Regions from separate parts of the Homo sapiens genome. Here region 2 is linked to region 1. The links are contacts of gene promoters, found by promoter capture Hi-C in blood cells and fetal thymus (Javierre and others, 2016). All regions are on one chromosome and are shown on one strand. Each heading gives the region's core, a stretch centred on a gene start or on the middle of the fragment in contact. The rest is flanking DNA. Distances are from core to core; before and after follow the strand shown.

Region 1 (5,653 bases), core at 593-3,092:
CTGCAGTTTCTCCCCCAGCAACTTATCATCAAGGGTGGTCATGGTGTCTGGAAAAAGAAAGCATATCAGGTTCTTTGCTGATTTGAGCCAGACAGACATGAATCTGAAGCATAGGGGGCTCGCCTGTGCTGAGATCCTACAATTTCCAGGACACTAAAGTGATTATTTTCATAACCAAAATCTTAACAAATCCCTACCGTTACCCTGTGTGTTAGGGCTTATCACACTCTTTAACAGAAGGTAAAACTGAAGCTCAGATAAAGGAAGAGTCTTCACCAAGCTTAACAGCGAATGACGGAGCTGGGACCAGACCCCAGGGATTCCTGACTCCAAGAGCCTGAGGTATAAATTACTCTAGTCTGAGTTAAGTGTACAAGCCACCTGCACTGGCTTGGAGGAATCTACTGACTAGTGGTTTTATCTGTGCTTTTAGTTTTCCCACCAGCTAAGACTGCTGCCTAATTGAAAAATTGTTTAAGTATCCTCAGGAAAAACCCCAAAAAGAGGCATCAAGAGTACAATGCTGAGTCACTATTTGTCTAGGCAATCACTCTCTGTCACCAGCCTTCAACTTCCCAGACAACACCCTGAGGGCTTGGATGGATGGTCTCTGAAACGCTACCTATTCTGACAGTTTAAAAGAAGGGCCCATACAAAGATTTTAATAACTCCCAAGGGTTTAAAGGACTATGATGGCCGGGCTCGCGCAGGTAATCCCAGCACTTAGGGAGGCCGAGGAGGGAGGATCACTTGAGACCAGGTATTCGAGACCAGCCTGGCTAACATGGCGAAACTCTTGTCTCTACTAGTAAAAGCAAACAAACAAACAAACAAAAATTAGCCAGGTGTGGTGGCGGGTGTCTGTTTTCCCAGCTACTCAGGAGGCTGAGGCACGAGAATCTCTTGAATCCGGGAGGCGGAGGTTGCAGTGAGCCAAGATCACGCCACTGCACTCCAGCCTGGGAGACAGAGCGAGACTCTGTTTCAAAAAAAAATAAAAACTAAAAATATAAAGGACCAGGCTTCTGCATCAGAAGTAGCCAAGGGCATTCTGATGAAAAGATGCAGCTTAGCCCCCAGAGGCCTGCTTGAGAATTCAGCAGGAATGCGGCTGCCTTAAAGACTTATCACCGGGCCTATCATACTCCATTTACAAAGTGACTCTCTCCCACCGGGCAAGGAGTTCTTGAACGTAGGGACCTCTAGTCACTACCTCTATCCCCAAAGCCCAGCACAATGCCGCTGCACAATTTGCTAAACTCGCAGCCTGGGTCAACGGGAGAATCGGAGGACTCCAGCAGTCAGATGCAAAGGAGACAGGGATCATGGAGAGACAGGTGGAGGTGCCAAGAAGGAACAAAACCAAACTTAAGGCCCAGGAATGGGCCAAGCGGGGGACACAGCAGCGGCGGAGGGGAGGGAAGGAGTTGCGCTCCTAAAGGAGGGACCGCTGCGGGGAGGAGACGAGGGCGGGCCCCCTGGAGACGCGAGCAGAGGAGGCGGGGCCCCCGGACGGGAAGCAGAGGGGTGTGTGGAGCTTTTGGGGGAAGGCTGGAAGGGCCCGGGGGAGGTGGGGCCAGAGGAGGAAAGGGGACGAGGAAGACGCGGAGAACTTGGGGGTCGAGACAGAGCGAAGAAGGGGCAGTTTTACCCAAGCTCGCCAACCCCACTCCCTCCCGTAGTCCGCAGCTGCTGCCGCTTCCCGGTGGACCCCAATGCAGTTACCTGCCCTAGCTCGCTCCGGATCCCTTTGGGCCAGCAGCTCCGGGCGCCGGAAGGAATGGAGCACTTTCTTAAGAGGAAGAGCAGTGGGTCAGCGCCCTGAGCGCTAAAGAGAAAAGCCGCCGAAGCCCGACAGCGCGGACCAATGAGGCGGCCTTCCTGCGTCGTGGCGGACGCGCATTGTCCAATCAGAAGCCGCTACTCCCAGCTGAGGGGCAGGGGAGAAGCTACGGGTCCTACCTTGGAACAAAACACCTCGACAACAACGCTCTCCTAATTGCTTTGTTTTGGTTTTAATCTGCACAACAAAAAAGTGAATTGTATGACCCAGCGTCAAGCAATAAGAAAAATGTATTCACAGGCCGGGCGCGGTGGCTCACGCCTGTAATGCCAGCACTTTAGGAGGCCGAGGCGGGCGGATCACTTAAGGTCATGAGTTCAAGACCAGCCTGGCCAACACGTTGAAAACCCGTCTCTACTAAAAATACAGAAATTAGCCGGGCCTGGTGGCCGACGCCTGTAATCCAAGCTACTCGGGAGGCTGAGGCAGGAGAATCGCTTAAACCCAGGAGGCAGAAGTTGAAGTGGGCCGAGATCGCGCCACTGCACCCCAGCCTGGGCGACAGAGCGAGACTGTCTCAAAAAAAAAGAAAGAAAGAAAAGAAAAATGTATTCACTTCCCTTCGAAGTTTCCGAAGCCATTCAAAGTGTGTTTTTTATTGGTTCTTCATCGCATCACGTCTATTAGACGGAAAAGTGACTCAGAGACGTTCGGTAATTTGCCCGAGAGCACAAATCCCTCAAGTACAGGGCATAGATTAAAATATATATATATATTTTTTTGACGGAGTTTCGCTCTTCTTGCCCAGGCTGGAGTGCAGTGACGCGATCTCGGCTCACTGCAACCTCCGCCTCCCGGGTTCAAGAGATTCTCCTGCCTCAGCCTCCAGAGTAGCTGGGATTACAGGCGTCCGCCAGCAGACCCGGCTAATTTTTTCTATTTTTAGTAGAGACGGGGTTTCACCATTTTAAAGAAGCGGCAGCCAGGAGTGGTGGCGCGCGCCTGTAGTCCCAGCTACGCAGGAGGCTGAGGCGGGAGGATCGCTCAGCCCAGGACTTGGAGGCCAGCCTGGGTGACAGAGCAGGAATGTAATGTGAAATCCGGAATTGGCTCCTGGTATAGAAAAAGGACATGGGGCCGGGTGCGGTGGTTCACTCCTGTAATCCCAGCACTTTGGGAGGCCGAGGCGGGCAGATCACCTGAGGTCAGGAGTTCGAGACCAGCCTGGCCAACATGGCGAAACCCCGTCTTTACTAAAAATACAAAAATTAGCCGGGCATGGTGGTGCACACTTGTAATCCCAGCTACTCGGAGGCTGAGGCAGGAGAATCGCTTGAACCCGGGAGGCGGAGGTTGCAGACAGCTGAGATCGCACCACTGCACTCCAGCTTGGGGGTCAAGACTGAGACTCCGTCTCAAAAAAGAAAAATAAAAAGGACATGAATGGGACAACTGACGAAATTTGAATAAGGCCTATTAATTCATATTAGTAGTATTGTATCAATAGTTTTAATAATTATACTATGTAAGATGTGAACTTTTGGAGATTCTATTAGATGAAGAATCTAGGGAAGCACTATCCTATTTTTGCAACTTTGTTTTCTTCTTCCAGGGTAAAGCCATACTATGATATTTTGCAACTTTTTTTTCTTTTTCCTCAGGCATACTTTGTCGTCTGTTTTTGCAACTTTTTTAAAACCTAAAATGATTTCAAATTCTGAGCCCTTGTTGAAGTATCCAATACACAACCGTGAAGTTGCTCATAGAAAGCTTTGGGTAAATTGAATCATAGAAAATATTCTAGAAAGATACACTGTTTAAAATAGGGCTCTTAATTTGGGGTAGGGGATCTTAATTTGTGGTTCTAGGACCACCTGAAATTGTCTGCAAATTTCTGTACCTGCCTGTTTTCAGAGAGGCTGTTTGCTGAGGCCCTCAGAGGAGTCAAAAAATACCACACACAAACACACACCCATTCAAGAATACTGTATTAATAAGTCCGTTTTCATACTGCTGTAAATAAATAACCCAGTGTCAGGCAGTTCATACTGCTATAAAGAACTGCCCGACACTGGTTTATTTATTTATTTATTTATTTAAGACGGAGTCTTACTCTGTTGCCAAGGCTGGAGTGCAGTGGCGCAATTCTCGGCTCACTGCAATCTCCGCCTCCCAGGTTACAGGCTCCCGCCACCACGCCCGGCTAATTTTTGTATTTTTTAGTAGAGACGGGGTTTCACCGTGTTAGCCAGGATGGTCTCGATCTCCTGACCTCGTGATACACCCGCCTCGGCCTCCCAAAGTGCTGGGATTACAGGCGTGAGCCACCGCGCCCGGCCATATTCAACCTTTTTTAAAAAAAGTAGAAATGGGGTCTTGCTATGTTGCCCACGTTGGTCTCAAATTCAGACCTTTTAATATATTCAGTCTCCTGGTTGTATAGATATAGTGATGTCTTTGTTGGGAATGTAGCTTGCATCTGTCAGGAATATGTGTACATGAGTTAGCTATCTAATAATATCCAACAGAACCACTCATTTTTCCTGTTAGAAATGTGGAATGGGCCAGGCATGGTGGCTCACACCTGTAATCCCAGCACTTTGGGAGGCCGAGGTGGGCAGATCACGAGGTCAAGAGATCAAGACCATCCTGGCCAATATGGTGAAACCCCGTCTCTACTAAAAATACAAAAATTAGCTGGGCATGGTGGCGCACGCCTGTAGTCTCAGCTACTGGGGAGGCTAAGGCAGGAGAATCGCTTGAACCCAGGAGGTGGAGGTTGCAGTGAGCTGAGATTATGCCACTGTACTCCAGCCTGGCAACAGAGTGAGACTCCGTCTCAAAAAAAAAAAAAAGAAATGTGGAATGATGTGGATAATGAAGTTTCTGTTTAATGAGCATACTGTATGTAATTTATAGTTTTAAAGGTATTTTACCGCTACTGTAAGGTTTTTGTTGGGCTGTTTATCAGTAGAGTATATTAAAGGTATTCCCTAGTGGGGAAAACAACCCATGAGCTGTCTTGTGACGGCTAAAGCATTTATCTTTAAGCAAGGGAAACCTTGATCCAACCAGATTTATAGGCTATTTTTAAAAATATTTAAAATTTTGAAGTAACTGAATGAAATTCATATATAAGTGATTAAATAGGCCGGGCACGATGGCTTATGCCTGTAATCCCACCATTTTGGGAGGCTGAGGCAGGCAGATCATTTTAGGCCAGGAGTTCAAGACCAGCCTGGCCGACATGGTGAAACCCCATCTCTACTAAAGATACAAAAATTAGCCGGGCTGAGTGGAGCATGCCTACTGTAATCCCAGCTACTTGGGAGGCTGAGGCAGGAGAATCACCTGAACCCGGTAGAAGGAGGTTGCAGTGAGCTGAGATCATGCCACTGCACTCCAGCCTGGGAGACAGAATGAGACTCCATCTCCACAAAAAAATAAATAAATAAATAGCTAGATAAATAAATAAAATAAATGATTAAATTCCTTGAAGCATGAGTTCCAAGACTTGATCCACTCTTACAGTTTTTCCAAATCATAACAGAGGCAAAACAAGATTTGGTCTTACAATGAGTTTCTCATGTTAGATTTTTTCTACCAATATTTTTGTAAATTTAGAACAAATTTGTCCTGTTACTTTATTTTTTCTATAAGAATTAAAGGTCCAGAGATGATTTTGAATGACACCAAACCATATGAGGACTGTTTGAGATAAACAGCTTGCCCATCTGTCTTGTCTTTTCTTTCTTTTTCTTCATTTCCTGAATTCTTTTATTTTTCTTTTCCTTCCCTTCCTTTCTCTTCCCTTGTGCCTTTTCTGCTCCCTCTCCTTTTGTCCTTTCCCCTCCCTTGTTTCTCTTTCTT
Region 2 (5,122 bases), core at 1-2,500, 430 kb before region 1:
GGTTCCAGAGGTATTCCTCTCTTAAATGCAAGTGCCTAGATTAGGTAGACTTTGCTTAGTATTGACAACTGCACATGAAAGTTTTGCAAAGGGAAACAGGCTAAATGCACCAAGAAAGCTTCTTCAGAGTGAAGAATCTTAATGCTTGTAATTTAAACATTTGTTCCTGGAGTTTTGATTTGGTGGATGTGATGGTTGGTTTTATTTGTCAGTTTGGTTGGGCTATAGCACACAGTTATTTAATCAAACAGTAATCTAGGTGTGGCTGTGAAGGTATTTTGTAGATGTGATTAACATCTACAATCAGTTGACTTTAAGTGAAAGAGATTACTTAAATAATTTGGGTGAGCTGCACCTGATTAGTTGAAAGGCCTCAAGAACAAACACTGCAGTTTCCTGGAAAAGAAGAAACTTTGCCTCAAGACTATAGCCATCGACTCCTGCCTGAGTTTCCAGCCTGCTAGTCTGCCCTATGGATTTGAAGTTTGCCAACCCCAACAATTGTGTGAATTAATTTCTAAAAATAAAGCTATATACAGCCATCCTTTGGTATTTGTGGGGGATTTGTTTCAGGATCTCTACAGATACCAAAATCTGTGGTTCCTCAAGTCCTTTATATGAAGTGGTATAGTATTTGCATATAACCTATGTGCAATCTCCTGTATAACTTCAATCATCTCTAGATTACTTATAATACCTAATACAGTGTAAATGCTAGTTGTTATACTGTATTTTTTCTTTGTATTATTTTTATTGTATTTGAATATTTTGATCTGCATTTGGTTGAATTCACAGATATGGAACCCATGGATATGGAGGATATGTGCACATATATTCAGGACTGAATATATATATTATACATATATATACACACAGAACTGAATATATATATATATATATACACACACACGACTGAATATATATATATATATATATATATATACACACAGGACTGAATATATATATATATATACACAGGACTGAATATATATATATATATACAAGACTGAATATATATATACATATACAAGACTATATATATATATTCAAGACTGACTATATATATATTCAAGGCTGACTATATATATTCAAGACTGACTATATATATATTCAAGACTGACTATATATATATATTCAAGACTGACTCTCTCTCTATATATTCAAGACTGAATATATATATATATATATATTTCTATCTCTCTAATAATACAAGAACAGAAAACCAAATACTGCATGTTCTCACTTATGCGTGGGAGATGAATGATGAGAATACGTGGACATATGGTGGGGAACAACACATGCTGAGGCCTGTCGGAGGGTGGGAGGTGGGCCATCAGGAAGAATAGCTAATGTTAATACCTAGCTGATGGGATGATCTGTGCAGCAAACTACCATGGCACACGTTTACCTGTGTAACAAACCTGCACATCCTACACGTGTAACCAATATATGTATATTATTATTCAAGTTCCAATAATCAAATAATACACAAACCACTGTATTATTTGATTATTGGAAATCAAATAATAATAATAATAATAATAATAATAATAATATACATATATTCTGTTGGTTCTAATTCTCTGGAGAACCCCGACTAATACAATGGGTGATTCATTCAGGACTCTCAATGCAAACAACAGAACATTCTCTAGCCTGTATAAGCAGGAAGGAATTTATTATAGGACATTACATAGCTCATGGAGCCACTGGGAGGACCAGGGAATTAGGCTTGGAGGGTTTGCACCTAGGAATGGTGGCCACTGTCCAGTGGAGATGCCTCTACTACTGCCATGGACACAGCATCTCAAATGACACCTTTGCTGCCCAAACCCCACTACTGCTGCCTTCCAAAACAGGCTGCTTCTACAGCCACTTTTGCTGGAAAATGGAATCTGTGTGATACTTGCTTCCTCTCTTTTCTCTACTTAGAATTAAAATTATCTTTATTTTGTGTCGGATTGGTGGAGCCCAGCTCATGTGTCTGTACTGCAGCTACAAGAAAGAATGGAAAGTGAGTTTTCTGGTTTGTGCCTTGAAAAGGAGGAACCCATGATAAGGAAAATTCCTCATACATAGGGAAGGTGTTCAAAGGGGCTGGGAAACGTGGAAAGTCTGCTTCAGTGAATCTGAATTTTCTTAGTTCTGTTCTGCCTCTGTGGGCCCTATCCCTAGAATGTTACAAAGACCATCACAATGGCCTTACTGTTGACCTGGTAGCAGCTCGATATAGTTGCAAGCAAAGAGCTTAAGAAGTGAAGTTATGTAATTATAGAACAACAGAGAAACAAAGACTGTTGGGTACACACAGTCCACTCTTTTAGTAATTTTTGAGTTAAAAAAAGTGTCAGAAACGCAGGAGGCAGAGCAAGAAGGCAGAATAGAAGCTTCTACCAATTGTCTTCCCCACAGGAACACCAAATTTAACAACTGTCTACACAAAAAATGCACCTTCATTAGAACCAAAATTCAAGTGAATGATTGTAGTACCTGGTTTTAACTTTATATTACTGAAAGAGGCACTGAGGAGGGTAGGAAGGATGGTCTTGAATTGCCAGAGCCATCCCTCCCCGATCCCTGGCAGCAGCCACATGGCACAGAGAATCTGTGTAGGGAGAGTGTAGTGGTTGTAGGACTTTGTGTTAGAACTCAGTGTTGCCTTGTTACACTGGAAAGCAACACCAGGCAGAACTCAGCTAATACCCATGAGGGAGAATTTAGATCAGCCCTAGCCAGAGGGGAAGCATCCATCCCAGTTGCTGAATGGGCTAAAGGGCTCTGGGGTTCTAAATAAACTTGAAAGGCAGTATAGGCCACAAGGATTACAACTCCTAGGAAAGTCTGATCTGCGCTTGGAGCCAGTGGACTTGAGGGGCATGTGACCTGCTGCGATAGCCAAGGGAGTGCTTGTGCCACCCCTCTCCCAACCCTAGGCAGTGCAACTCACAGCTCTCAAAGAGACTCCTTCCTTCAGCTTGAGGAGAGAAGAGTAAAGAGGACTTGTCTTGCCACTTGGATACCAGCTCAGCCACAGTAGTTTAGGGCACCGGGCAGAGTCCTGAGGCACCCATTCCAGGACCTAACTTCCAGATGACATTTCTAGACATATCCTGGGCTTATATGGGCCATATAAGGCAGAAGGGAACCTGTTGCCTTGAATGAAAGGATCTAGTCCTGATAGTATTCACCACCTGCTGACTAAAGTGCCCTTGGGCCCTGAATAATCAGCAGCAGTAGCCAGGTAGTACACACTATGGCCCTTGAGTGAGATTCTGAGATGTGCTGACTTCAGGTGTGACCCAGCACATTCCCAGCTGTGGTGGCTATGGGGAGAGACTCCTTCTACTTGAGAAAAGCAGGGGGAAAAGTAAAGGGGATTTCATCTTGCAGCTTAGGTACTAGCTCGGCCACAGTGGGGCAGAGCACCAAGTGGGCTCTCAGTATCCCTGATTCCAGGCCTTGGCTCTCGCACAGCATTTCTGGACCTGACCTGGGCCAGAGGGGAGACCACTGCCCTGATACGTGAGTCCTAGGTCTGGCAGCATTCACCACAAGCTTCCTGAAGAGCTCTTGGCCTTGTGTGAACATTGGTGGTAGCCAGGCAGTACTCCCCATGGGCCTGTGGTGGTGCTGGCCATGGGGAGAGACTCCTCTGCCTGTGGGAAGGGGAGGGATGAGTGGGAAAGACTTGACTTGTAGCTTTGTCTGCAGCTCAGCTGCAGTAGAATAGAACACAAGGCAGATTCTTAAGATTTTCAACTCCAGGCTCTGGTCCCCAAACAGCATCTACGGACCTGCTTGGGGGAACTCGCTGCCCTGAAGGGAAGGACACAAGCTTGGCTGACTTACTGCCTGCTAACTGCAAAGCCCTAAAGCCTTGAGTAAACAAAGGTGGTGGTAGCCAGGTAGTGGTTATAATGGGCCTTGGGTAAGAAACAGTGCTGTGCTGGCTTCAGGTCTGACCTAGTGCAGTCCCAGTGGTGGTGGCCACAGGGGTGCTTGTGCCACCCCTCCCCCAGTTGTAGGCAGCTCAGCACAGAGACAGAGAGACTCTGTCTGTTTGGGAGAAAGTAAGGGAAGAGAACAAGAATATCTGCCTGGTAATCCAGACAATTCTTCCAGATCTTATCCAAGACCATCAAGTGGTACCTCTACAAGTCTGCAAGAGCCACAGCATTACTGGGCTTGGGGTGCCTCCTAATGCTGATATGACTATGGTGACCAAAAACTTAGATGACAACACCCAAGTCCCTTCGAATACCTGGAAAGCCTTCCCAAGAAGGCTTTCCCAAGAAGCCCAGACTGCAAAGACTACCACAAATATCTAACTTTTCAATGTCCAGACACCAGTGAACATCCACAAGCATCAATACCACTCAAGAAAACATGACCTTACTAAACAAACTAAATAAGTCATCAGGGATTTATCCTAGAGAGATAGAAATATGTGATCTTTCTCTATCTCTCAGAGAGAGGTCATATATCTACACCTCTAGGCTTTTCAGACAGAGAATTTGAAATAGCTATTTTGAGGAAACTCAGTGAAATACAAGATAATACAGAGAAGGAATTCAGAATCCTATCAGATCAATTTAACCAAGATATTGAAATAATTAAAAAGAATCAAGCCGAAATTCTGAAGCTGAAAAATGCAACTGACTACTAAAGAATGCATCAGAGTCTCTTAATAGCAGAATTGATCAAAGAGAAGAAAGAATTAGTAACATTTCTATGTGAAAACAGTGAAAATTCTGAAAATAGTAATCCCATTTACGATAGCTACAAATAAAATTAAGTACCTGGAAATTAATCAAAGAAGTGAAAGATCTTGACAATGGAAAATAAAACACTATGAAAGAAATTGGAGAGGACACACGAAAAACAGAAAAATATTCCATATTCATAGATTGGAAGAATCAACATTGTTAAAATGTCCATACAACCCAAAGCAGTCTATAGATTCAATACAATCCTTATCAAAATACCAATGACATTCTCCATATAAACAGAAAAAACAATCCTAGAATTTATAGAGAACCACGAAAGACCCAGAATAGCCAAAGCTATCCTAAGCAAAAAGAACAAAACTGGAGGAATCGCATTACCTGACTTAAAATTATAC

What was found. The method cuts DNA at HindIII sites, captures the fragments that hold promoters and counts their contacts. A CHiCAGO score of 5 or more calls a contact.
Region 2: a contact is called between a fragment that was not itself captured here and the fragment with the promoter of PDCL in region 1, in 1 of 17 cell types (M1 macrophages). The highest score is 5.6, in M1 macrophages.

The regions. Positions count from the first base shown.
Region 1 is chr9:122,826,746-122,832,398 of GRCh38, forward strand. It overlaps PDCL (phosducin like), which reads right to left and starts at 1,843. Exons shown (of 4, transcript NM_005388.5): 1 at 1,726-1,843; 2 at 1-47. The coding sequence starts at 42. RefSeq lists an enhancer at 1,745-2,039. The HindIII fragment of the contact is 3,273 bases long and covers 279-3,551 here.
Region 2 is chr9:122,395,162-122,400,283 of GRCh38, forward strand. PTGS1 (prostaglandin-endoperoxide synthase 1) reads left to right here. Exons shown (of 11, transcript NM_000962.4): 11 at 1-542. Among named protein-coding and RNA genes, the nearest start is that of PTGS1, 27 kb to the left of the region's middle. The HindIII fragment of the contact is 2,269 bases long and covers 117-2,385 here.